Regions from separate parts of the Homo sapiens genome. Here regions 1, 2, 3, 5 and 6 are each linked to region 4. Evidence: promoter capture Hi-C in human tissues and cell types (Jung and others, 2019). All regions are on one chromosome and are shown on one strand. The core of a region is centred on a gene start or on the middle of the fragment in contact, and the rest is flanking DNA. Distances in the headings are between cores, read along the strand shown. Region 1 overlaps ARMC10 (armadillo repeat containing 10). Region 2 overlaps NAPEPLD (N-acyl phosphatidylethanolamine phospholipase D). Region 3 overlaps FBXL13 (F-box and leucine rich repeat protein 13). Region 4 holds the start of FAM185A (family with sequence similarity 185 member A). Region 5 overlaps NAPEPLD (N-acyl phosphatidylethanolamine phospholipase D). Region 6 overlaps FBXL13 (F-box and leucine rich repeat protein 13).

Evidence for each region. Contacts are between HindIII fragments. The study calls those that stand out against the background at their distance.
Region 1: a fragment that was not itself captured here is called in contact with the fragment with the promoter of FAM185A in region 4 in 7 of the 25 tissues and cell types used here (H1 embryonic stem cells, IMR-90 fibroblasts, dorsolateral prefrontal cortex and 4 more).
Region 2: a fragment that was not itself captured here is called in contact with the fragment with the promoter of FAM185A in region 4 in 7 of the 25 tissues and cell types used here (H1 embryonic stem cells, dorsolateral prefrontal cortex, hippocampus and 4 more).
Region 3: a fragment that was not itself captured here is called in contact with the fragment with the promoter of FAM185A in region 4 in 7 of the 25 tissues and cell types used here (H1 embryonic stem cells, IMR-90 fibroblasts, bladder and 4 more).
Region 5: a fragment that was not itself captured here is called in contact with the fragment with the promoter of FAM185A in region 4 in 3 of the 25 tissues and cell types used here (hippocampus, mesendoderm cells and thymus).
Region 6: a fragment that was not itself captured here is called in contact with the fragment with the promoter of FAM185A in region 4 in 5 of the 25 tissues and cell types used here (IMR-90 fibroblasts, mesenchymal stem cells, mesendoderm cells and 2 more).

What each region holds. Positions count from the first base shown.
Region 1 is chr7:103,082,779-103,086,684 of GRCh38, forward strand. It overlaps ARMC10 (armadillo repeat containing 10), which reads left to right. Exons shown (of 7, transcript NM_031905.5): 3 at 904-1,052; 4 at 3,852-3,906. Among named protein-coding and RNA genes, the nearest start is that of ARMC10, 9.6 kb to the left of the region's middle. The HindIII fragment of the contact is 7,401 bases long and covers 1-3,906 here.
Region 2 is chr7:103,100,550-103,104,151 of GRCh38, forward strand. It overlaps NAPEPLD (N-acyl phosphatidylethanolamine phospholipase D), which reads right to left. Exons shown (of 5, transcript NM_001122838.3): 5 at 1-3,005. The coding sequence ends at 2,880. Among named protein-coding and RNA genes, the nearest start is that of ARMC10, 27 kb to the left of the region's middle. The HindIII fragment of the contact is 4,955 bases long and covers 1-3,602 here.
Region 3 is chr7:103,044,311-103,048,463 of GRCh38, forward strand. The region is part of intron 3 of FBXL13 (F-box and leucine rich repeat protein 13); the gene reads right to left. Among named protein-coding and RNA genes, the nearest start is that of FBXL13, 28 kb to the right of the region's middle. The HindIII fragment of the contact is 4,592 bases long and covers 152-4,153 here.
Region 4 is chr7:102,747,745-102,751,313 of GRCh38, forward strand. It overlaps FAM185A (family with sequence similarity 185 member A), which reads left to right and starts at 1,255. Exons shown (of 8, transcript NM_001145268.2): 1 at 1,255-1,914. The coding sequence starts at 1,464. It also overlaps the pseudogene RASA4DP. RefSeq lists silencers at 945-1,034, 1,075-1,244 and an enhancer at 978-1,272. The HindIII fragment of the contact is 9,642 bases long and covers 1-3,569 here.
Region 5 is chr7:103,119,935-103,123,600 of GRCh38, forward strand. It overlaps NAPEPLD (N-acyl phosphatidylethanolamine phospholipase D), which reads right to left. Exons shown (of 5, transcript NM_001122838.3): 3 at 1-289. Among named protein-coding and RNA genes, the nearest start is that of NAPEPLD, 27 kb to the right of the region's middle. The HindIII fragment of the contact is 6,917 bases long and covers 1-3,666 here.
Region 6 is chr7:103,016,718-103,020,474 of GRCh38, forward strand. The region is part of intron 7 of FBXL13 (F-box and leucine rich repeat protein 13); the gene reads right to left. Among named protein-coding and RNA genes, the nearest start is that of NFE4, 45 kb to the left of the region's middle. The HindIII fragment of the contact is 6,114 bases long and covers 1-3,757 here.

The sequences.
Region 1 (3,906 bases), core at 1,194-3,693, 340 kb after region 4:
TTCTGTAAAGAGGATTTTTTTTAAGGTAAAGCCATAAGTTTAAACATCATTGAGCAGATCCAGCATTTGGCTATCCTAGCTCTTCTTCAAAATGTCAGGTTTTCTTTTGTCATCACCACCAGCAGGACTATTATTCTAGGATCCTAGTCATCATGCCTTGTATAAATCAAACAAAAATGCCACACTAGCAACAAGATTGGTTTACTCTCATAGCTTTCCTTCTATCTGATGTGCTCAGAAAAGATCTGCTTAATGCAAATCATATTTCCTAATTAATCTCTTTATAGGTAAGTGTTCATTGGATGGGTGTACCTCGTTTTTAAAAGGAGAAGCAAAATGTTATCAGCATTTGAGGTATATAGTATTTGCATGAAGTGTCTTACTAACAGCCATATGCCAGGTGACCATTGACTAATTTCTTGGTATCTATAAGCCTACACTTCCCAGCTGTAATTTGAGAGTACTACAAGTATCTTCTTCCTAAGGATGTAAAGTGCTTAATACTGTGCCTGCCATACAAGTATGTATTCGATATTGTTTTAAAAATTTTAAAAAAACAGGCTGGGCACAGTGGCTCATACTATTATCCCACCACTTTGGGAGGCCAAGGCAGGAGGACTGCTTGAGGTTAGAAGTTTGAGACCAGCCTGGGCAACATAGTGAGACCCCCATCTGTACAAAAAATGTTTAAAATTAGCCGGGTGTGGTGCATGTGCTAGGACCACAGGTCCTACCTACTTGGGAGGCTGAGGCAGGAAGATCACTTGAGCCCAGGAGATCAAGGTTGTAGTGAGCCATGATTGTGCCACCGCACACCAGCCTGGGTGACAGAGTGAGAGCCTGTTTCAAAAATAACCTCGTATTGATTTTAGCTTAACTTCAAATAACTTTCTTCTTATGCAGAAGACTTAACTGATGGTTCATATGATGATGTTCTAAATGCTGAACAACTTCAGAAACTCCTTTACCTGCTGGAGTCAACGGAGGATCCTGTAATTATTGAAAGAGCTTTGATTACTTTGGGTAACAATGCAGCCTTTTCAGTTAACCAAGTAAGTACCTCAACTCAGCAAGCAAGCTCTTTCCATTCTTACACACTAGCGGTAATTGTGACCCTGAATAAATTACTTAACCTCTCAGACCCTCAATTTCCTCATCTGTGCAATGTGGCTACTTATACTTAAAACATAATGTTTGTTTACTTCTGAAAAACACAGCCTAATAGTGATATGATTATTAATGTGATTATAGATCCCTATGAAGTTGGTCACTGGCATCACATTCGTAAGTATATCTAATCAACGTTTACCATTTCATGGCCTTTTAAATTATTTAAAATTCAGCAGTGCTTCAGTAAAACAATGAATGCATCTAACATTTAAGTACATACTTTAAATTGTATATCGGTCTTATGAATATGATTCTGATGCTGATGGTCCCTGGACCACACTCTGATAACCACTAATCAATGTAAATGGCTCCTGCAAATGGAGACTTAACACTAAGACTAAAGAGCTTAATTTGAACATGTGCTTCTTCCTACTCTTCCTCACAACCCTCCAGCATGAAAAAATAGTTAAAACAAAATTTCGTAATTGTTTTCAGCCAATGCCCTTTGTTAACATTGTCATAAGTACAAAATTATTTTGAATTTATAGTTTTTTTTAGCCCAGCTTTCTCCAGAATGGCAAGGTTTACTGTAAAGCTCTATAAACGTATAGGGAGATAGAGAATCTTTGTGCATTATGTACTCTTTCAGTTATAAATGACAGAATTCACTTTAAATTATTTTAAGCCTAAAAGGGAAAATATTGAGCTCAGCTAACTTGGACAGCGAAGAATAGCATTGATTTCAGGCACAACTGAGTCCAGTTCAAGGTTGCAGAGTTCCCAGAGTTCTCTCTTTCTCTACCTTTTGGCTTTGCTTATGGCCGCTCAATTTTATGTATTGGTCTTTATCTTTCTGGCCACAAAGTGGTTTTCTTCACCAGGGTTGAAAGAAAGCCACTAGCCTCTCTAAGCCTTCATCTCTGTAGCTCATTATCCAAAAGGTACAGTTGTTCTTCTAGGATCCAGTGTTAACCCTTTGGATCAATCTCCGGGGCAATTTCTGGATCAGTCGAGGGACCATGGCCCATGTTTATTGAGGCCTGGTTCACATGAGCATCCTGCAGCTAAGTAGCAGGGATGGCTGTGAATACAAGTGAACAACAATCCCAGCAGGGACCGTGTGGGACAGAGGAGATGCCACATCTGCCCCCGTGGAAAGAGAGCCACTAGACAAGCAAAAACAATAGCTAGTGATTAATGTGTTAGCCTGCCTTTAAAGAAGTATTTCTGATGGCATAATTTTGTATTCCTCTAAAATAAGTTGTAGTCAGAGTAGGCCAGTACCCACTGGAGAAGAAGTACTTTCTTGAGCAGCGGGGGTCAGTGCCCTCACCATCAATTATAGTACCTTAATCTGCTTTAACAATACAGTTAAAAAAAAAAAAAACTTTTCTAGTAACTGCAAGTCCTTCGAAAGAACTTGAAATTGTAAAGGGAAAGTTTATTTCTCTTTTAATGCTAAGATCACCCTTAACGGTAAAATGGAGTATTGAGCTATTTCTAAGAAGTAGATTTTGGCAGTCTTTTTCTTTTTTCCTGCTAGAATAGCATGTCTTCACTTGACAAGAATAATTTTTAGCATATTTTTCTTACGAGAATTAAAGCGATTTAATTCTTTCAATGTTTGAGCCAAAAGCACATGGTAACATAGTATTGCAACCAACTGTAAGACATCCCAGATTATTTTCCCTCTGAATATTTGGGTACCATTTCTCTTCTTTTTTTTTTTTTTTTTTTTCTTTTTTTTGTGGCAGAGTCTCACTCTGTTGCACGGGCTGGAGTGCAGTGGTGCAGTCTCAACTCACTGTAACCTCCTCCCAGGTTCAAGCGATTCTCCTGCCTTAACCTCCCCAGTAGCTGGGATTACAGGCACTGGCCACCACGCCTGGCTAATTTTTGTATTTTTAGTAGAGATGGGGTTTCACCATGTTGGCCAGGCTGGTCTCTACCTCCTCACCTCAAGTGTTCCACTCATCTCGGCCTCCCAAAGTGCTGGGATTACAGGTGTGAGCCACTGCGCCTGGCCCTGGGTACCATTTTTCAAACTGTGTGGAACCTGATTCTGCAAGATATCAGTGCGTTCCCACCACTTCCACTGCTGAAAAAATGACCCTTTTTTTGTGTTTAGTTCATAGACATACTATCGTCAACACACCCCTCTTCAAGATTCCCAATGCACATGGACATATTAAAGAAACATGCTTACTCTTGTTATACTCAGATTTTCCTAAACTTAGATAACCATGGGAAACCACCCCCCCTTATTTTTATGGAACATCTCTTAACATTTTGAGGGATTAGTGTTTCAAATAATACGTGTTAGCAAAACACTACTTTAGTATTCTAAATCCAAAACACTAACTTTAGTATTCTAAATTATAACACTTTTCCAGTTTTGCCTATAATGGAGAAGTCATATAACTCATCTCAAAGAAAAATAATTTTATTTGTAAGTTGCTTCAAGATCGTTATAGTATCTCTATAAATTTTTATTGTATTTCTCAACATTGTAGTTTAAATAATTATATATCTTAATAATCTTATTTTCAATGGATTTTCTTTACCTATAAAAGTATGGGTAGTGAGATTTTTTTAAAATATGAATTAAATATTTGTATATGGGAAAGAGATTTCCAAAAAGCCGTTGATTTTTAATTGTATTTGTGGATGCAAAGAATTCAGTGAACGGAGATGCATACTGAAGTCCCAGTCCTGCTTTTTTTTTTTTTTTCCCCTCGTAGGCTATTATTCGTGAATTGGGTGGTATTCCAATTGTTGCAAACAAAATCAACCATT
Region 2 (3,602 bases), core at 1,103-3,602, 350 kb after region 4:
ATGACCCACCCTATTGGGCAGTGAGGCATAGCAAAGTATTCCTCAGTTATCACAGGAAACTTCAATAAAATCTTACATATTGCTATGGGTATTCACGAAGAGGAAAATGAAGTTGACTTAGAGGATAAGACTGATTAAAAGACACTACAATGCATATTAGACTGAATTGAAGAAGAGAATGGATTTGTCTTATTTTTCAAAATTTGTTTTCACTTTGCACATAAACCCTTCAAAATGTAGATAACAAATGAAAAATAAAGTGGAACCCACTCAATAAGGTGAGATTCTGTAAGCAGAGATGAAGCTTGATGTTCTTAATGAATAGTGTCAGTGTAGAAAGAACATGAGTGGTAATAAAAAATTACAGCTTACAAAAGGGCCTAGAAAAATGAGGCAGGCCAGACGAGTGGAAATAGAACACAACAGTTTAAAGTGCTTTGAGACCCTCAGTTAAACAGTACACGTGAATACAAAATAATGTTAAGGCCATTCATGGAGAAGAAATACTTAAGCAAGACATACCTGGCTTGCTTCATAGAGAAGAGGTAAGAGATGGATTTTCAATTCGGCGTGCAGCAGCAGGGAATATGGCTACAACAACGCTGGCTAGTATTAGGGCAACACACCTCAAAGCTAACTCACCATAAACCTAACATCTTGATTCACATCTGCTTGGAGTGAAAAAGTTTATGATCAGTCTTTTCAGGAAGGTTTATTTTATGGGGGATTTTTTTGTGCTTTAGTACCCCAAAATCACATATGTTCGCATACATCATATACACACACATTGCATACACATTTCCCCTTGACTGATTCGCATCTTTGTAGATAAACACTAAATTTTGATAAAGATTATTTACACTTATTTAGGCTATTACTCCAATTTAAAAATCAGTGAAAGTTTTCAATGTTTAGTCTCCTAATATATAATGCTTAAATTTGCAACAGGAACAATACATTATCAAAAGCATTAACCTGTATTTAGCTTTCAAATATACCTGTCTATATTAGGCAGTGATATCTTAAGAAATCATTTTCTCCCTTATATTTTCTAAAGTGCTTTAAAAACTCATTTAATCTACACATTTTTCAGAGGTAGGTCGGAATTATCCTCTTGTTGCAAATGAGGAAACAGGCACAGTGAGCACTGGTGACTTGTTTCAGGTTACACAAAAAAATCCATGATGAAAGCAGGGTAAAAGTTCAGATTTAGTGGCTAACGTGGCACCACACATACAGGTGTGCAAATAAATTATAGAGCACTGCCTGGGTAGCATTTGGTGTAGAAAACCTATTTTGATTATTTTGTATGAATAAAGTGCTGAGACTGGATTAGGAATACAGAATGGGCCTCCAGTGGTATCTAATCCACCTCCCTCCCTTAGGAAGGGTCAGAATAATCAAGTGAATACAGAGTCCTTATTAGGACTAAATCTTATGTCAACTGACTCCCCCCCCGCCCCCCAACCACTGGCATTCATACTGGCTTACCAAAAGAATCATGCTTAAGGTTCATTTAATATAAAAATGTAAGACATCTGAATCAGGTAAAAAAAATTATAAATCTGATTGATATATTTAGAGCTAAGAGACTCCAGGAAAAAAAAAATGTGTAGAGAAAATTAAAAACAAATTTAATTCAAAGAATATGGTCTATTAACATTTTGTCTGTAAAATATTTCATTGTAGCTGTATTTGTGCTTAGAAGATCTTCTAGATTTAAAAACAGAAAATGGCATAAATCATATTCTCATAGCCACACTCCTTCCCTTCCTCTGCTCAGCTAAGGAGAGGGCTTTCTTTTGAGACAGGGTCTCATTTTGTCGCCCAGGCTGGAGTGCAGTGGTACGATCACAGCTCACTGCAGCCTCTATCTCCTGGGCTCAAGTGATCCTCCCACCTCAGCCTCCCAAGTACCTGTGACTACAGGTACACACCACCTCACCCGGCTTTTTCTTTTTTCTTTTTTTTTTTCCGAGAGAGACGGGAGGTCACCATGTTGCCCAGGTTGATGTCAAACTCCTGGGTTCAAGTGACCCACCCACCTTGGCCTCCCAAAGTAAGAGGTCTTTTGGGAATTGTAGACGTGCAATAGAATATACTGTTCCCTCTCATCTGAAGGCTCTAGGAAAAAAAGAATATACTGTTCTTTTAAAAATTTAAGTGAATGGTGGTCATGGGTGCATTAATGCGAAAGAACTGTACACTTAAAAATGGTTAAAATGGTAAATGTTTAAAATGGCAAATATGTATTTATATATTTTACCACAATAGAGAAAATCAAGTCTTTAAAAATGATAGCCCCTATGTTTTTATGCTTACCTAAATAAACCATATTTAATATTTGGCATATAAGCTAATTTGATAGAGCAAGAATTGCTATGTTTATAATAAGCATGTTGGACTGAATTTCATCATTTATTAGAATGTGCATATAAGAAAGATACTTGTATTTGTAGGCCTCTGAAAAACATCTAGGTAGGTAGAGAGCCTTGACTCACCTTGCCGAAGGTCCTGAAGAATGGAAAAAAGAAAAATGAATCTTCAATATCGGTTTTTCACCTCAGGAAATTCTAGTACCACAAAAATATAATGTTTTAGTAAAAACATTTCCATTGCAGTGCTTATATCATGATATGAAATTTAAAATCCACATTAGCCAATTCATTATTTAAATGACCCACCCCTGAACCCTCTCATAGTGTACATGAGCTGATCATACTAGGAAGCAAGTTATTACACAAAACATAAAACATAAACTTGCAGAAGTTGTTTCCAAATGTAAAATAATCACAATATTCATGAATTTCTAAGTCTTTTCATTTGTTTTTAAACTTAGATGATGCCTTTTTCATTAAAAGTGCCTGTGCTCACATTTATTAAAAGTTTTCATCATCATTATTTAGGTATCTTGATTCTCCATGCTTCAAGACAAAAAAATCTTCAGCGTTAAGTCCGTATCTCTCTAGAGCTTCATTCAGCTTCACTGGAGGCTCTAAGTAATGCTGGCCAAAGAGAAAGAAGAAAAATAGAAAAAGATTAAACATATATTTGGGAGATTTTCCAAATAACAGTTCAAACTAAAATAACCAACAGATGCCTAGTTAGAATTAGGCCCTTTCTTTTAATTGAAGCATTAGCAAATGGGTCTATCACATTTTCTAATACAGTTTTGAGTCATGAATTAAGTCAACAGGTATTTGGTTGGATAGAAATCATGCCAACACCATGTATGTGAAATTTGGTGCCATCTTACTTTGAACATCACTGGATTGCATGAAATCATCACGGTTTCACCATATGAAATTCCAATCTAGATGGAATCAGTGCCAAAGATGATGTTATTAGAGAATTACATGTTACTAACATTTTTGAAAAATATAGAAATCAAATTGTGGTGTGTGTGTGTGTGTAACCAAATGCTAGAGCAAATTGTTTTGCTGAAGAAGGGTTGTTATCCTCAAAAAGTCTAGTCACATACAGAAACCACAGTCTACAGAATGAAAGAGGATCCCAGAGAATATGAAGGTTGAGCTCTGTGTGGCAAAGAGGAGTCAAGATTTTGCCCTGAGGAATTGCTAAATGGGAGTCACCCTTTACTG
Region 3 (4,153 bases), core at 1,198-3,697, 300 kb after region 4:
TATGTAGACTCTGTATGAATTCTGATTTGAACACAGCCACATGTAAAAAGACATTTTTGAGACAATCTGGGAAACTAAAATATAGAATATGAATCTGAATATAATCAGGACTAGATGACATTCAGGAATTATTGTTATTTATTCATAAGACAGTGGCACTGTGTTTCTATTCTCTAAAAATATAATCTCCTATTAGAGATGCACACTACAGTATAATATAATTTCTGGGATTTGCTTTCTAATACTCCAGCAAAAATGGAGGAAGAGAGAATAAATTAACAAGATTGGCAAAATGCTGATTATTGTTCAAGTTAGATGATGAGTGATCATTATGGTATTCCTTCTACTTCTGTGTTATATTAAAATGTTTCCATAATAAAAAGATTTTTTAAATTTTATATATGCTTTCTCTTGTAGTTAGAAGGCCCATCTGGAGATTTCATTTCCTAAGAAATGAGAACCAAGTCTGTGAAGTTCATTTCCTCCTTACAATGGTTGATTCTTTCATCTTGGAATGCTTGAAACAATGAAATTGTCTTTCCTTCTACTATTATGAGAGCAGTTCCTACTTTTTCTTTACTATTTGGCTTACTCACAGTTTCCTGTATTCACTCGTCTTTAAGTAGAGACATATTTATCCTTTATAAATAGGCAATGATAAAAGAAAAACTTCAGCCGAATTAAATGTAAAGGAATTTAATTGAGCAATGAATAATTTGTGAATTGGGCAGCCCCCAGAATCACAGCAGATTCAGAGAGACTCCAGTGCAGCCACATGGTGGAAGAAGATTAATAGACACAAAAAGGGAAATGATGTGCAGAAATTGGAAGTGAGGTACACAACAGCTGGACTGGTTACAGATTGGTGTTTGCCTTATTTGAACACAGTTTGAACACTCAGCAGTGTATGAATGGTTGAAGTATGGCTGCTGGGATTGGCCAAGACTCAGCTATTGATACACGTGCATACTCCTAGTTAGGTTTTCAATCTTGTCTATCTATTAAGCTAGGTTGCAGTTCGTCCACAAAGACTCAAATATAGAAACAGGGAATCCTTCTCAGGCCACATTTAGTTCACTTTAACAACTTCCCCCTTTTGGTCATTTTCTCAATTTTGAGAGATTGACCAAAACTTTAATTATCAATGTCACTATCACCATTGTAAAAGTACTTATTTGGTCTTGAAACATACTGGGAAACAGTAGAACATTGAGTTTTGCAAAGGTAAAAACAAGTATGAGTAGAGGGACCCTTTATGGGTACCTCTTTATGCTGGAATGTCCTATTTACAGGAGAAAAACAAAACCTGGTCTGTTCTAGGATCTATGTGTTTCCGTAAAGTCTTAGTTTGATTATGTCACATTTAGCATAAGTGACCCCATTTTAGTTTGGTTTGGCCTGTTGGGGCCTAGTGAATGAGCTTAGTCCAAAACAGTGGCCTCCCACAACTTTGTTTAAAAAAGATTCCCCCCTTTTTGGTCAGGTTCTCACTTAGGTGAAAGTGTGACCAAAACTTAGGGCCTTAGTGCCACTCTCAGTTACCATCATTTTGGGTTTCCAGTCTCACCACGTCATTCATAGGTTATAGTAATCTCATGGTCGCACATTTCTTTCAGCTCGTCTTTCCATTTGAAGAGAGACCATTTGACATTCTAGAGGTGGCTGCATGCAAGATTTAAAACCTTCGAGAGAATACAGTGCACCAGGGAGACTATTATTATGACTCTCAGGAGGATAATACCAAGAGTTTAGAGTATGCTCCTTACCCAGGGTACCCATAAACCGAACCACCTAAAATTAAATAGATTAAAGAATGAGCTGGATAAAGAGTCTACTTGCTTTAAGTGGTCTTTTCATTAATCATCTACAACTGAATTTTTATAATCTACGTTTGATGTATTTCTCCATAGGCCACAAGTGTCAGAAGCTGCACAGGTACTTTTCTGTTTAGCCAATTATATTATTTAGCATAACTTTCACAAGAGAATTTAAAGTCTGTTGTGTAACAATAGGCTTTACATTAGAATCTGCTATACAGCCTATCATGAGGGATACATTTCTAATTATTGCCTCTTTTATTCTAAACCATGGAAAAAGGACCTAACAAATGATGTCCTTCTAGAAGAGTGAAGGCCTCCTGGCAATGTTCTATTTAACCCATGATGTGGGCTAAGAGGAGTTTTGACTGATTATGAGGCGACATATATACCATTAAAGTTTCTCACCTATGTTGGGCCTTCATCTTTTATCCATCAAAGTATAAAGTTATTCATGTATAAGGCTGGTGCAAAATCCTTCACGAATAAAAGTATACCCTATAAGTGCACATAATAGACCCCCTCATCATTTCTATTGGCTACAGAGGCATAAATAAGGAAAAAATATTCAAAGATAAGAGTCTCACAATAGTAGATGTCTTGATCTGTGATCTCGGGAAAAGCTGTTTACATCAAGGATGCCATCTTATTCTGGGGAGAAACTTTCCTGGTTAGTTTTACCTTAAGGGTTCCAATGGGTGTACAGTTCCAATAGTGTGGAGGGACCCTTCTCAGTTGTGAGATTATGAACTTAAAGTTCAAGGTTCCAAAGTTTTGTTGCAGTGTGGATGGCAAGCACAGTCTTTCTCTGATGTTCTCAAAAGATCCAGTCTTTAGGTTCTAGACTGTGAAGCAGTTGATTATCCTCGGTGAACCATAAAAACTTTCTTTACCTGGTGAAAATATACTGTGGCGTAATAATTACTGTAGCATAAAACATGCATTAAAAATGACAGTTGAATGAACTCCCTTTATAAATGTTTAAATGACCCATCGGATAGCCAAACGTACCTGATAGCCAAGCGTACATGAAGGTTTGATTGTCTTCCCAGGAATATGGAACCAAACATTGGTTTTAAACTATTTTTGAAATGTATAAGTCATTATATCAATATATTCAATTTGGATGATTTTATCTTTTCCATGATGAGTCATGGAATGCAGAGCCTTTAATAACAAAAGCTTTAAGGGCTCAGGAAGGACAAGATAGCCTTCCTGGTCTTCCATGAGTCTATGCTTAATATTGGACTTATGTCCTGTTGAATACCAGTTGTTTCTCCAATTTAAATTCATAGCACTGATAACTAATGGTTATCACAGGTAATGAGACTTAGACTATGGAATTCAAATTGTATATCTAATCAATTTCACTATCGGCTGGTTTAACATGAAAATCTTGGCAAAGTATTTTCTTGGTATTTAATTAATTTTTTGTTTTACTTGGGTTAGCAGTTCTATACAAGGAAGTTTGGTTATTTCTGTGATATACAATAACTTAACATAATAACTATAATTATGGTTGACAGTATATACTCAGACATATTAGAATTTTATAAGTCCTATACATTTTTTTTTGTTTGTTTTTGAGATGGAGTCTTGCTCTGTCACCCAGGCTGGAGTGCAGAGGCACGATCTTGCCTCACTGCAACCTCCGCCTCCTGGGTTCAAGTGATTCTTCCACCTCAGCCTCCCAAGTAGCTGGGCTTACAGGCACCCGCCACCATGCCTATCTAACTTTTTGTACCTTTAGTAGGGACGGGGTTTCACCATGTTAGCCGGGCTGGTCTCAAACTCCTAGCCTCAGGTGATCTGCCTTCCTCGGTCTCCCAAAGTGTTGGGATTACAGGCATGAGCCACTGTGCCTGGCCCCATACAATTTTAGAACATACATTAATATCATTCACTAAAATATAACCTGAAGATTAAACATTATTTTTATTTTGACAATGCTTCCCATGTAACTTAACATGTTAAATAATTCTGTTTACCTCTCTTTTGGATGCTTCAGGGGCCCTCTGTAGCGTTCCAAAGTTAGAGGTCAGAAAAGACCATTTTAAAGCTGAAATTTAATTTTGGGAAGCCTATTAAATATAAAGATATATATATAAAGTTTTAAAACACTTGATATTATGAACTAGAATTCCAGGTCACTGTAAGTCACTCACTTAGCCAAAATGATGACTCAAAAAATTTTTTAAAGGCAAAAACCTTTACTCATTGATAGAGGGAAGACTCAGCTTTCCAAACAATCTGTCTTTTGTCTTTCCTTTCTTTTTTTTTTTTTTGATAGTGTATTTAAAAGGCAAACAAAACAAAAATCTTTCATTACCTTTTAA
Region 4 (3,569 bases), core at 5-2,504:
AAATAATTTAGGGAATACATTTTAGGAGGAAGTAGGGGCACAGAGGGGGAGAGAGAAACCAGGCAGGAAAGAAGAAAAAAAGAAAAAAGAAGAAAATAAATCTTTCTGTTCCCATTATTTTACTGCCTATAGAATTATAAAAGGTAAACACACACACACACACACACACACACACACACACACCCCTTATAGGGTCATTTAGAACCATCTTTCTTCATTTTAAAACTAAAGAAACAGGTCTAGGTGACACAGATGAAGCAGTGGCAGAGCCAGGAAAATAACCTGACCCTTGTCCCTGCTCTTTCCACCGCACCATGGTGACTCTCTTTTTTGTGTCTTTTTTTTTTTTTTCACTCTAAAACTGAGGATCATTTGTAGTCAAAGAGATCAATGCTATTCTCAAAACAAGTTCTGATCTCTCATAATTTTCTTGGTAACTCAGAATCAATGTTAAGTACGTTGAAATAAAAATACAGTTCTTTACACGGTAATTTTGTAGACTGTGCACCACGGTCCCATCCATTTTCTTACTTGATCCTTACAAAAACCCTTTGAGGCAAGGCAAGGAAGGTATTATTATCTACATTTTTAAAGTGAGCAAATTAAAACCCAAAGTAAGGTCACTTAGGGTCAGGACGGAGCAAGTACTCTATTCCTATATTTGGAATATAGGAGGGAATACACTTCCAAAGAGGCAATTCCCTCAAAAAGCACCAATCTTGCTCTTTACTTTCTTACCAAGGCATTCTCCATGCCCTGGAGATGCCCTCACTAAGTTAGTGAAGCTTGGATGTTGACATCCACAGAGGTTACTCCTAGTTTGCACCTAGTTGTCATCTTAAAAAGCGCAGTTTCTTACCCCTTCCCTTGGTCCTGATCCTTATTTAGGCTCCTATTTTTCTCTTTGGGATTTGGCGTCCTGGGTCTCACTCCAAAGCTCCACCCTCTCCAACCAAGAAGTCGCGTGCTTGGTATCCAAGGTGACCACGCAGCTTTACCCGCGTTGCCCCTTCCGTGCTTCCCATTGGCCAGTGGACTCCCATGTACCGCCCCTCCAATAGCCAATGGTCTTGAGACAAAGGGCGCCCGCCTTTCCAGCGATTCTAACACCTACCCTCTTACCCGTGCTCCCCTGCGCATTGCCTCCTGGGAAATGTGGTTTCTAAGAGGCAGAGCTCTGCGACTTAGAACTACCTATCCCGTCGGCCTTAGCGAAAGGGGGTGGACTTAGGCAAGGGGTCCAGGTCAGAGTTTAGAGCTTTCAAATCCCAACTTGCCCCTGGGGATTGCGCGGCTGATGTTTAGAACGCCTAGTCAAGCCAACCGGCTCGCTCTTGTTTCAGCAAACCCTGACTTACGTCTCCTATTTGACTTGAGGCGGCACAGTGGCCAAGTCGATTGGCCGTGGCAAGTGACCCTCCCTGTGGCTGAAGTGTTCTGAGGACTGGCGAGAGAGGCGCGCCATGCTTGCCCCCTGCTCAGGTTGGGAGCTTGGCTGCTTCCGTCTCTGTCTCCGTCAGGTCCGACTGTGGGCTGGCGCTGGGCGCTGGGCTTGCTGGGCTTGCCAAGCCAGGCCGTACAGCTCAGGTGGGAGCGAGCGCTGGCCCGGATCGGAGACTGAGGTCCCTCCGCCTGGCCCGGGGCGCCGAACTCTGAAGGAGTGGACACTGCAGGTGAGCCCGTTTGGTCGGCTGCGGGCGCGGCTCCCGTGCCACCTGGCCGTGAGGCCCCTGGACCCCCTCACCTACCCGGATGGCGACCGCGTGCTGGTCGCGGTGTGCGGCGTGGAGGGCGGCGTGCGGGGCCTGGACGGCCTGCAGGTGAAGTACGACGAGGATCTGGAGGAGATGGCCATTGTGTCTGATACTATCCACCCCCAGGCGTCCGTGGAGGTGAACGCGCCCCTGAAGTTTGGCAAGTGAAGTGAAGTGAAAACGGGTTTGGGTCCCAGGGAACGCACAGTGAACTTAATAAATGTGGTCGACGTGCACTTTTAATTGGTCCTGGCTCTCTAAACCTAATTTACAGTTGGCCCCTTCGGAAATGCACCTTTTCCTCTGTTCTGTTCTTGAGTGTCCGAGTAGTATTTAAAAATTAGGTTCCCAATTATAGAAATTTTATACATCGAATGGAAACATGATTTGGTATAATCCAGGTCAAATTCTATTTCTGGAGCCGCTTGTGTTCTCCTTTATCCCGTTGTCATTAGCAAACTGGCTTATTTTTCAAGGTTGAAGTTTCTTGACAATTCATTCAATGGTATGGCAGTCCATCTACATTTCATCTTGCTCACAGCCTGGGGGTCTGTCCCAAAACAGCCCTGTCAATAGGATGTTCCGGGTATCACCTGGTTTGAGTATTTGGTTTTAGACGGGCGCCCAGCTTCTTACTGTTATATTTCCATTCTTTTTGGCCTAAGTTTTCCATGAGTAGCAAGCTTTGAAGAAAAACACATGGTAAGCCTGCCTAGGAAGCTTCAATAATAATGCCTGCAAGATACCTTTCTTAGCTTTTCCTAAATGGCAAGCCACTGTGTACACACACTTTTCTAGGAAGGGCTCCCCAGACTGTCATTCTTCCTGGGACTGATGGAAGATATTGATGATGATGATGATAGTAATAATAATAGCATTTAGCATTTTTAAGATCATCTTTTATAATGCTTAGAGTTGCCCAAATAGTAGATGCCGTAGTCCTCCCTTATCCACCGTTTGGCTGTCTCAGTTTGTTACCTGCCTCAGCTGTTGTAGGAAAATATTAAGATATTTTGACAGATCACAGTAATATAACTTTTATTACAGTATATTGTTATAATTGCTGTATTTGTTATTATTGTTCATCTCTTACTATGCCTAGTTTATAAATTAAACTTGATCATTGATATGTATACAGGAAAAAACATAGAATATATAGGATTTGGTACTATTTGTGGTTTCAGGAATCAAGTGGGGGGGCGGGTCTTGCCTACTTTAAGAGAAATCATCAATATTTATGTTAATTCCAAATTAAATATCAGCGTTTTTAATTTTTAAAATTTGTATACAGAGATGCCTGCAGTTACATCTTAAATAGACAGCCAAGGATGGCATTTGTAATTCCTTATTTTCCAAACTTGCTTCATATACCACTGCCATTTGTCCACAATCTTGTGGGGTTTTTTGTTTGTTTGTTTTGGTTTTTTTTGAGACTGCATCTCACTCACTCTGCCACGCAGGCTGGAGTACAGGTGCACAATCATGGCCCACTGCAGTCTTGACTTCACGGTTTTAAGCAATCTTCTCGCCTCCACCTCCTGAGTAGCTGGGACTACAGGTGCATGCTACCATGCCCGGCTAATGTTTTTGTTTTTTTGTAGAAATGGAGTTTTGCTACATTGTCCAGGCTGGTCTTGAACTCCTGGGCTTCAAGCAATCCTCCTTCCTCGGCCTCCCAAAGTGCTGGTATTACAGGCATGAGCCACTGCTCATGGCCTAATCTTGTAGTTTTAATAGTATATATTAGCTTTTTCAAAGTTGTTCCCATTTTTAAAAAATTACTTCAAATACCTGTGATATAGTTGCATGGTAATA
Region 5 (3,666 bases), core at 1-2,500, 370 kb after region 4:
AATTGTAGTCCAGATGGTCATAGTGGTTGTGACTGATAAGGACCGCATCTATTGGAGGGAGTTCACTTATTGTGCACGGGGAACGACGAAATCGCTTTGGACCCATGTACTGCGATGGTGAAGCACGAGAGCTAAAGATGGGATCCGTGAGAAATATGAGCTCATCCATTTCCACCATTACCGTGGCATGTCCCAGCCATGTGACTCTTAAGCCAGCTTCCCTCACTCCAGCTTCTTCAGGGTTAGTGATAAAATATGGCTTAAGCACTGGGAGTTCTTTGTCTAGTTCCTTTGTGTATAAAGAAAGCAAGACAAAAGAGTAGTTAGAAAAAAAAGTATTATATCATCATAGTCCACATTTTGACCTAAATAATGGCAAGAAGAGCTGTTTTAAGAGAACTAAAGTCATTCAATAAACTTGCTACACTTTTGCTTTTTTCTTGAAAATGCATACTTCTTTCTGAATCTGACTTAATAATCATGATAATATGGTAATCTTCTTCCTCCCAAATGCAAAAGAGAAAATTAAATTTAAAACTTTGAGTGCTGCTAAATGTATCAATTTTTTAAAGGCTCTCTTCAGTACTGCCAGAAGTAGACTGGCCTAGATGCAGTCATTTTTCTATTGCCATTCTACTCAGCTGATGTATTTGCTGCTAAAAACTGCCTTAAAAGCAGGTCAGTCCCTGGAAATAGTAAAGAAAGCTTATGACCATTTATTTGTAGCTCTTGGCTCTCAGACATGAATCATGAATCTGATATTTTTCTTTTTTTTTTTTTTTTTTTTTTTTTTGTCTGAGACAGGCTCTCGCTCTGTTACCCAGGCTGGGGTGCAGTGGCATAATCACAGCTCTCTACAGCCACAACCCCCCAGGGTCAAGTGATCATCCCACCTCAACCTCTCAGCTGGGATCACAGGCACACAGCACCACCATATCCAGCTAATTTTTTATTTTTTGTAGAGACAGGGTCTCATTATGTTGCCCAGATTGATCTTGAACTCCTGGGCTCAAGCAATCATCCTGTCTTGCCCTCCCAAAGTGCTGGTATTATAGGCGTGAGCCACTGTGCCTGGCCTGAATCTCACTTTCTGAGTACCTATAATTCAAAATGGAGCGCTGTGATGATTCCTGGACAAATCACAGTCATAAATTGTTTTCCTCATTCCTTACCTTTCTGATTTTCTACCATTAATCAAACCAACGTGAATATGATCCCTTCCTGTGAGAAGCTGATCACTGAGATAAGGGGGGCCGTAAATGGATATAAAACAATAACTATAACAAAGCGTGAAGAGTATTATCCCTTGGTTATTCTACATTTTATACTTGGATTAAGCTAGGCCAACAAAAAGTGGTAAGGTTGCAGCATCACAGTCCTGGCTTTTATAAAGCTCTTTTACTGAATTGTGCTCTGGTACCATGCTATATAGCTGCATGGAGGTCTCTCATAGGAAGCCACCTCATGAAACTCACCATGTATGTGTTCAGGCTGCAGACTTGGTACCACCTCCACCTTCCTACTTACCCCAGAAACATTTCCCTCCCATCTCGTTTCAGGAAAAATTCTTCTCCAGAGCACCTGGCTTTGTCATTTCTGTCACTGGGAAAACTCTTAAGATTTCATGATACTTCTCTCTTTAGGAAGTTCAGAGGAAAAGCTGAGGCCACCTGCAGCAACGTGCAGCACATGATGGAACATATTTCTATATTAACTTTATTCTTGGCTTTATTTTATTTTTCTAGTCTAATAGTCCATTTTGCTCCTAGACTGGCTAGGTATAGTAATTCTATACCTCATCCAATTCTTTTTTTACTGCTTTATGTATGTTTGTAAGTTGCCACTAAATCAACTTTGAAAGGGTGTGGTACTGGATAAGTAGTTAAAATACAGGTCATGTTATAGCCTGATAAGAAGGAATGAAGAGCCCAGTTGCCAAAGGCATCACAGACACAGTGACTTGTGTGAGTTCCTGAAGAATGATGAGAAACTCATGATGCAGAGAAAAGGAAGAAGGGCATTTCAAGTAGAGAAACCACCCAAGCAAAGGTACAGAGCCAAACAGGAATGTGGTGTTTGAGGGCAGGGGACAAACTAAATCTATAAAGATGGGAACACATTAAGAGCCTTGAGTGTCATGCTTCACTCTAAGACAATGAGGAAGCATCTTTTTTTTTTTTTTTGTAGAGACAGGGTGGGTTTTACCATGTTGCCCAAGCTGGCGTCGAACTCCTGGGCTGAAGCGATCTGCTTCCCAAAGTGCTAGGATTACAGGTGTGAGCCACCACGCCAGGCCTAGGAGGTATCTTTTTGCCCTCACACGTGCACACACACACGTACACATGCATGCATGTGCACACACACATACACACAGACATGACCCAATTATGTTTAGATAAAACAATTCTAGAGTCCAAATGATGGCATGGAGAGTGTCACAACAGTTGCCAAGATATGAAGAGATGAGGACCTGAGCAAAGGATACACCGGTAGACACAGACAAAAGAGGGCAGATGGGGAGATGCTGGTGAAGGGAAACTGAGAGGTCAATGAGAGAGTGAGTCTGAATGGGAAGAAGGCCTGGACAGGAAGAGAAGGAGCAGCACAGGTGGAGGACAAAAAGGTTTCTCTTAGCCACTTAAACCTTTAGTTTCCTCATCTGGAAAACAGGTGTAATAATTGTACCTATGCTTCATTCCTGTGAGGATAGAATTACGAGTGGCTGGGACATAATAAGCACTCTACAAGTAGTCCAAAAGAAAAAGCAAGAAAGTTCCAACCCTGACAACAAACCAGGCACCAATGTTACCAATCTTTTGCATTTCCGTGGAGCTACTAACCTAGTTAAGATGCTAAGAAATATTCAGACATTCAAAGCTCTCCAGATTGCTCAACTATCTGCCTGTCAACTCAATCCATGCACAAGAGCCACCTCAAAAACAGCCAACTTAAGGTATAACTTAAGTCTCCTCTGCTGCAAAATCTCCACTGGCTCTCTACTGCCTGACAAAGTCTGTCTCACCTCCTCAGCCCAGCAGTGAGCTGCCCAGGGACTGCCCCAATTCTCTCGGGCGTTTCATGCTCCTCTTCCACATGTGCTGTGTCCCACCTACATGGAGACTGCTTCCTACTCCTAGACTGAGCTCAAGAACCCTGCACGGTACTCATCCCATTTCTCAGGTTAAATTATCTTCCCCCTTATCCCTTCGGGCCATCTCTTGAGTCCCACAGCTAGAAGCACTTACTCCTGCCTCTCAACTTCCATATCTCCCTATTCACACATCTCCTCTGGATATTCTGGTTATGTGTACACAGAATTTGTCCCATGTCTTATGAAAGGTGGAATCATTCAGTGCTCAGTTTGATTAATGAAACACAGCATGTGCTCAACAAAATTTGTTGAATGGATGAGTAAATGAATGAATGTCAACTTTCAATCAGTTCTTAAATTTGGGAGTTAGGGTTAGTGAACAATGACATATGCCAAGAGGTATACTTATCCAGAATTAATGAGGAAAGGGAGAGGGAATGAATATAAACTGAGTACCTACTAAGTACTCGTACTTGGCATCATATTGGGCACATAATGATGATGAACTACCTAATGTATCAAGTACTTTAGCATAACACAAAACAAAATACTATTAACAACAGCTACCATTTATG
Region 6 (3,757 bases), core at 1,147-3,646, 270 kb after region 4:
TCCCTCATTGCTCGCACAGCAGTCTGAGATCAAACTGCAAGGCGGCAGTGAGACTGGGGGAGGGGCGCCCGCCATTGCTGAGGCTTGAGTAGGTAAACAAAGTGGCCTGGAAGCTCGAACTGGGTAGAGCCCACCACAGCTCCAGGAGGCCTACCTGCCTCTGTAGACTCCACCTCTAGGGGCAGGGCATAGCCGAACAAAAGGCAGCAGAAACCTCTGCAGACTTAAACGTCCCTGTCTGACAGCTTTGAAGAGAGTAGTGGTTCTCCCAGCATGGAGTTTGAGATCTGAGAACAGACAGACTGCCTCGTCAAGTGGGTCCCTGACCTCCGAGTAGCCTAACTGGGAGGCATCTCCCAGTAGAGGCAGACTGACACTTCACACGGCTGGGTACCCCTCTGAGACGAAGCTTCCAGAGGAATGATCAGGCAGAAACATTTGCTGTTCAGCAATATTTGCTGTTCTGCAGCCTCTGCTGGTGATACCCAGGCAAACAGTGTCTGGAGTGGACCTCCAGCAAACTCCAACAGACCTGCAGCTGAGGGTCCTGACTGTCAGAAGGAAAATTAACAAACAGAAAGGACATCCATACAAAAACCCCATCTGTACGTCACCATCATCAAAGACCAAAGGCAGATAAAACCACAAAGACGGGGAAAAAACAGAGCAGAAAAGCTGAAAATTCTAAAAATCAGAGCACCTCTCCCCCTCCAAAGGAATGCAGCTCCTCGCCAGGAACAGAACAAAGCTAGATGGAGAATGACTTTGACAAGTTGAGAGAAGAAGGCTTCAGACGATCAAACTTCTCCAAGCTAAAGAGGAAGTTCGAACCCATCGTAAAGACGCTAAAAACCTTGAAAAAAGATTAGATGAATAGCTAACTAGAATAACTAGTGTAGAGAAGTCCTTAAATGATCTGATGGAGCTTAAAACCATGACACGAGAAATATGTGACACATGCATAAGCTTCAGTAGCTGATTCCATCAAGTGGAAGAAAGGGTATCAGTGATTGAAGATCAAATGAATGAAATGAAGTGAGAAGACAAGTTTAGAGAAAAAAAAGAGTAAAAAGAAATGAACAAAGCCTCCAAGAAATATGGGATTATGTGAAAAGACCAAACCTAGTTCTGATTGGTGTACCTGAAAGTGACAGGGAGAAGAATCAAGTTGGAAAACACTCTTTGGGATATTATCCAGGAGAACTTCCCCAATCTAGCAAGGCAGGCCAACATTCAAATTCAGGAAATACCGAGAACGCCACAAAGATACTCCTCGAGAAGAGCAACTCCAAGACACATAATTGTCAGATTCACCAAAGTTGAAATGAAGGAAAAAATGTTAAGGGCAGCCAGAAAGAAAGGTCAGGTTACCCACAAAGGGAATCCCATCAGAATAACAGCGGATCTCTTGGCAGAAATTCTACAAGCCAGAAGAGAGTGGGGGCCAATATTCAAAATTCTTAAAGAAAAGAATTTTCAACCCAGAATTTCATATCCAGCCAAACTAAGCTTCATAAGTGAAGGAGAAATAAAATCCTTTACAGACAAGCAAATACTGAGAGATTTTGTCACCACTAGGCCTGCCTTACAAGAGCTCCTGAAGGAAGCACTAAACACGGAAAGGAACAACCGGTACCAGCCACTGCAAAAACATGCCAAATTGGAAAAACCATCGATGTTAGAAAGAAACTGCATCAACTAATGAGCAAAATAACCAGCTAACATCATAATGACAGGATCAAATTCACACATAACATATTAACCTTAAATGTAAATGGGCTAAATGCTCCAATTAAAAGACACAGACTGGCAAATTGGATAAAGACTCAAGACCCATCAGTGTGCTGTATTCAGGAAACCAATTTCACATGCAGAGGCACACATAGGCTCAAAATAAAGGGATGGAGGAAGATCTACCAAGCAAATGGAAAACAAAAAAACAAGCAAGGGTTGCAATCCTAGTCTCTGATAAAACAGACTTTAAACCAACGAAGATCAAAAGAGACAAAGAAGGCCATTACATAATGGTCAAGGGATCAATTCAACAAGAAGAGATAACTATACTAAATATGTATGCATCCAATACAGGAGCACCCAGATTCATAAAGCAAGTCCTTAGAGACCTACAAAGAGACTTAGACTCCCACACAATAATAATGGGAGACTTTAACACCCCACTGTCAACATTAGACAGATCGAGACAGAAAGTTAACAAGGATATCCAGGAATTGAACTCAGCTCTGCACCAAGCAGACCTAATACACATCTACAGAACTCTCCACCCCAAATCAACAGAATATACATTCTTCGCAGCACCACATAGCACTTATTCCAAAATTGATCACATAGTTGGAAGTAAAGCACTCCTCAGGAAATGTAAAAGAACAGAAATTATAACAAACTGTCTCTCAGACCACAGTGCAATCAAACTAGAACTCAGGATTAAGAAACTCACTCAAAACCGCTCAACTACATGGAAACTGAATAACCTGCTTCTGAATGACTACTGGGTACATAATGAAATGAAGGCAGAAACAAAGATGTTCTTTGAAACCAATGAGAACAAAGAGACAACATACCGGAATGTCTGGGACACATTTAAAGCAGTGAGTAGAGGGAAATTTATAGCACTAAATGCCCACAAGAGAAAGCAGGAAAGATCTAAAATTGACACCCTAACATCACAATTAAAAGAACTAGAAAAGCAAGAGCAAACATATTCAAAAGCTAGCAGAAGGCAAGAAATAACTAAGATCAGAGCAGAACTGAAGGAGATAGAGACACAAAAATCCCTTCAAAAAATCAATGAATCCAGGAGCTGGTTTTTTGAAAAGACTAACAAAATTGACAGACGGATAGCAAGACTCATAAAGAAGAAAAGAGGGAAGAATCAAATAGACACAATAAAAAATGATAAAAGGGTTATCACCACTGATCCCACAGAAATACAAACTACCATCAGAGAATACTATAAACACCTCTATGCAAATAAACTAGAAAATCTAGAAGAAATGGATAAATTCCTGGACACATACACCCTCCCAAGACTAAACCAGAAGATGTTGAATCCCTGAATAGACCAATAACAGGCTCTGAAACTGAGGCAATAATTAAAAGCCTACCAACCAAAGAAAAGGCCAGGACCAGATAGATTCACAGCCGAATTCTACCAGAGGTACAAGGAGGAGCTGGTACCATTCCTTCTGAAACTATTCCAATCAACAGAAAAAGAGGGAACAACCCCTAACTCATTTTATGAGGCCAGCATCATCCTGATACGAAAGCCTGGCAGAGACACAACAAAAAAAGAGAACTTTAGATCAATATCCCTGATGAATATCCATGCAAAAATCCTCAATAAAATACTGGCAAACCGAATCCAGCAGCATATCAAAAAGCTTATCCACCATGATCAAGTGGGCTTCATCCCTGGGATGCAAGGCTGGTTCAACATATGCAAATCAATAAACATAGTCCAGCATATAAACAGAACCAAAGGCAAAAACCACATGATTATCTCAATAGATACAGAAAAGGCCTTTGACAAAATTCAACAACCCTTCGTGCTAAAAATTCTCTATAAATTAGTTATTGATGGGACGTACCTAAAAATAATAAGAGCTATTTATGACAAACCCACAGCCAATATCATAATGAATGAGCAAAAACTGGAAGCATTCCCTTTGAAAACTAGCACAAGACAAGGATGTCCTCTCTCACCACTCCGATTCAACATAGCGTTGGAAGTTCTGGCCAG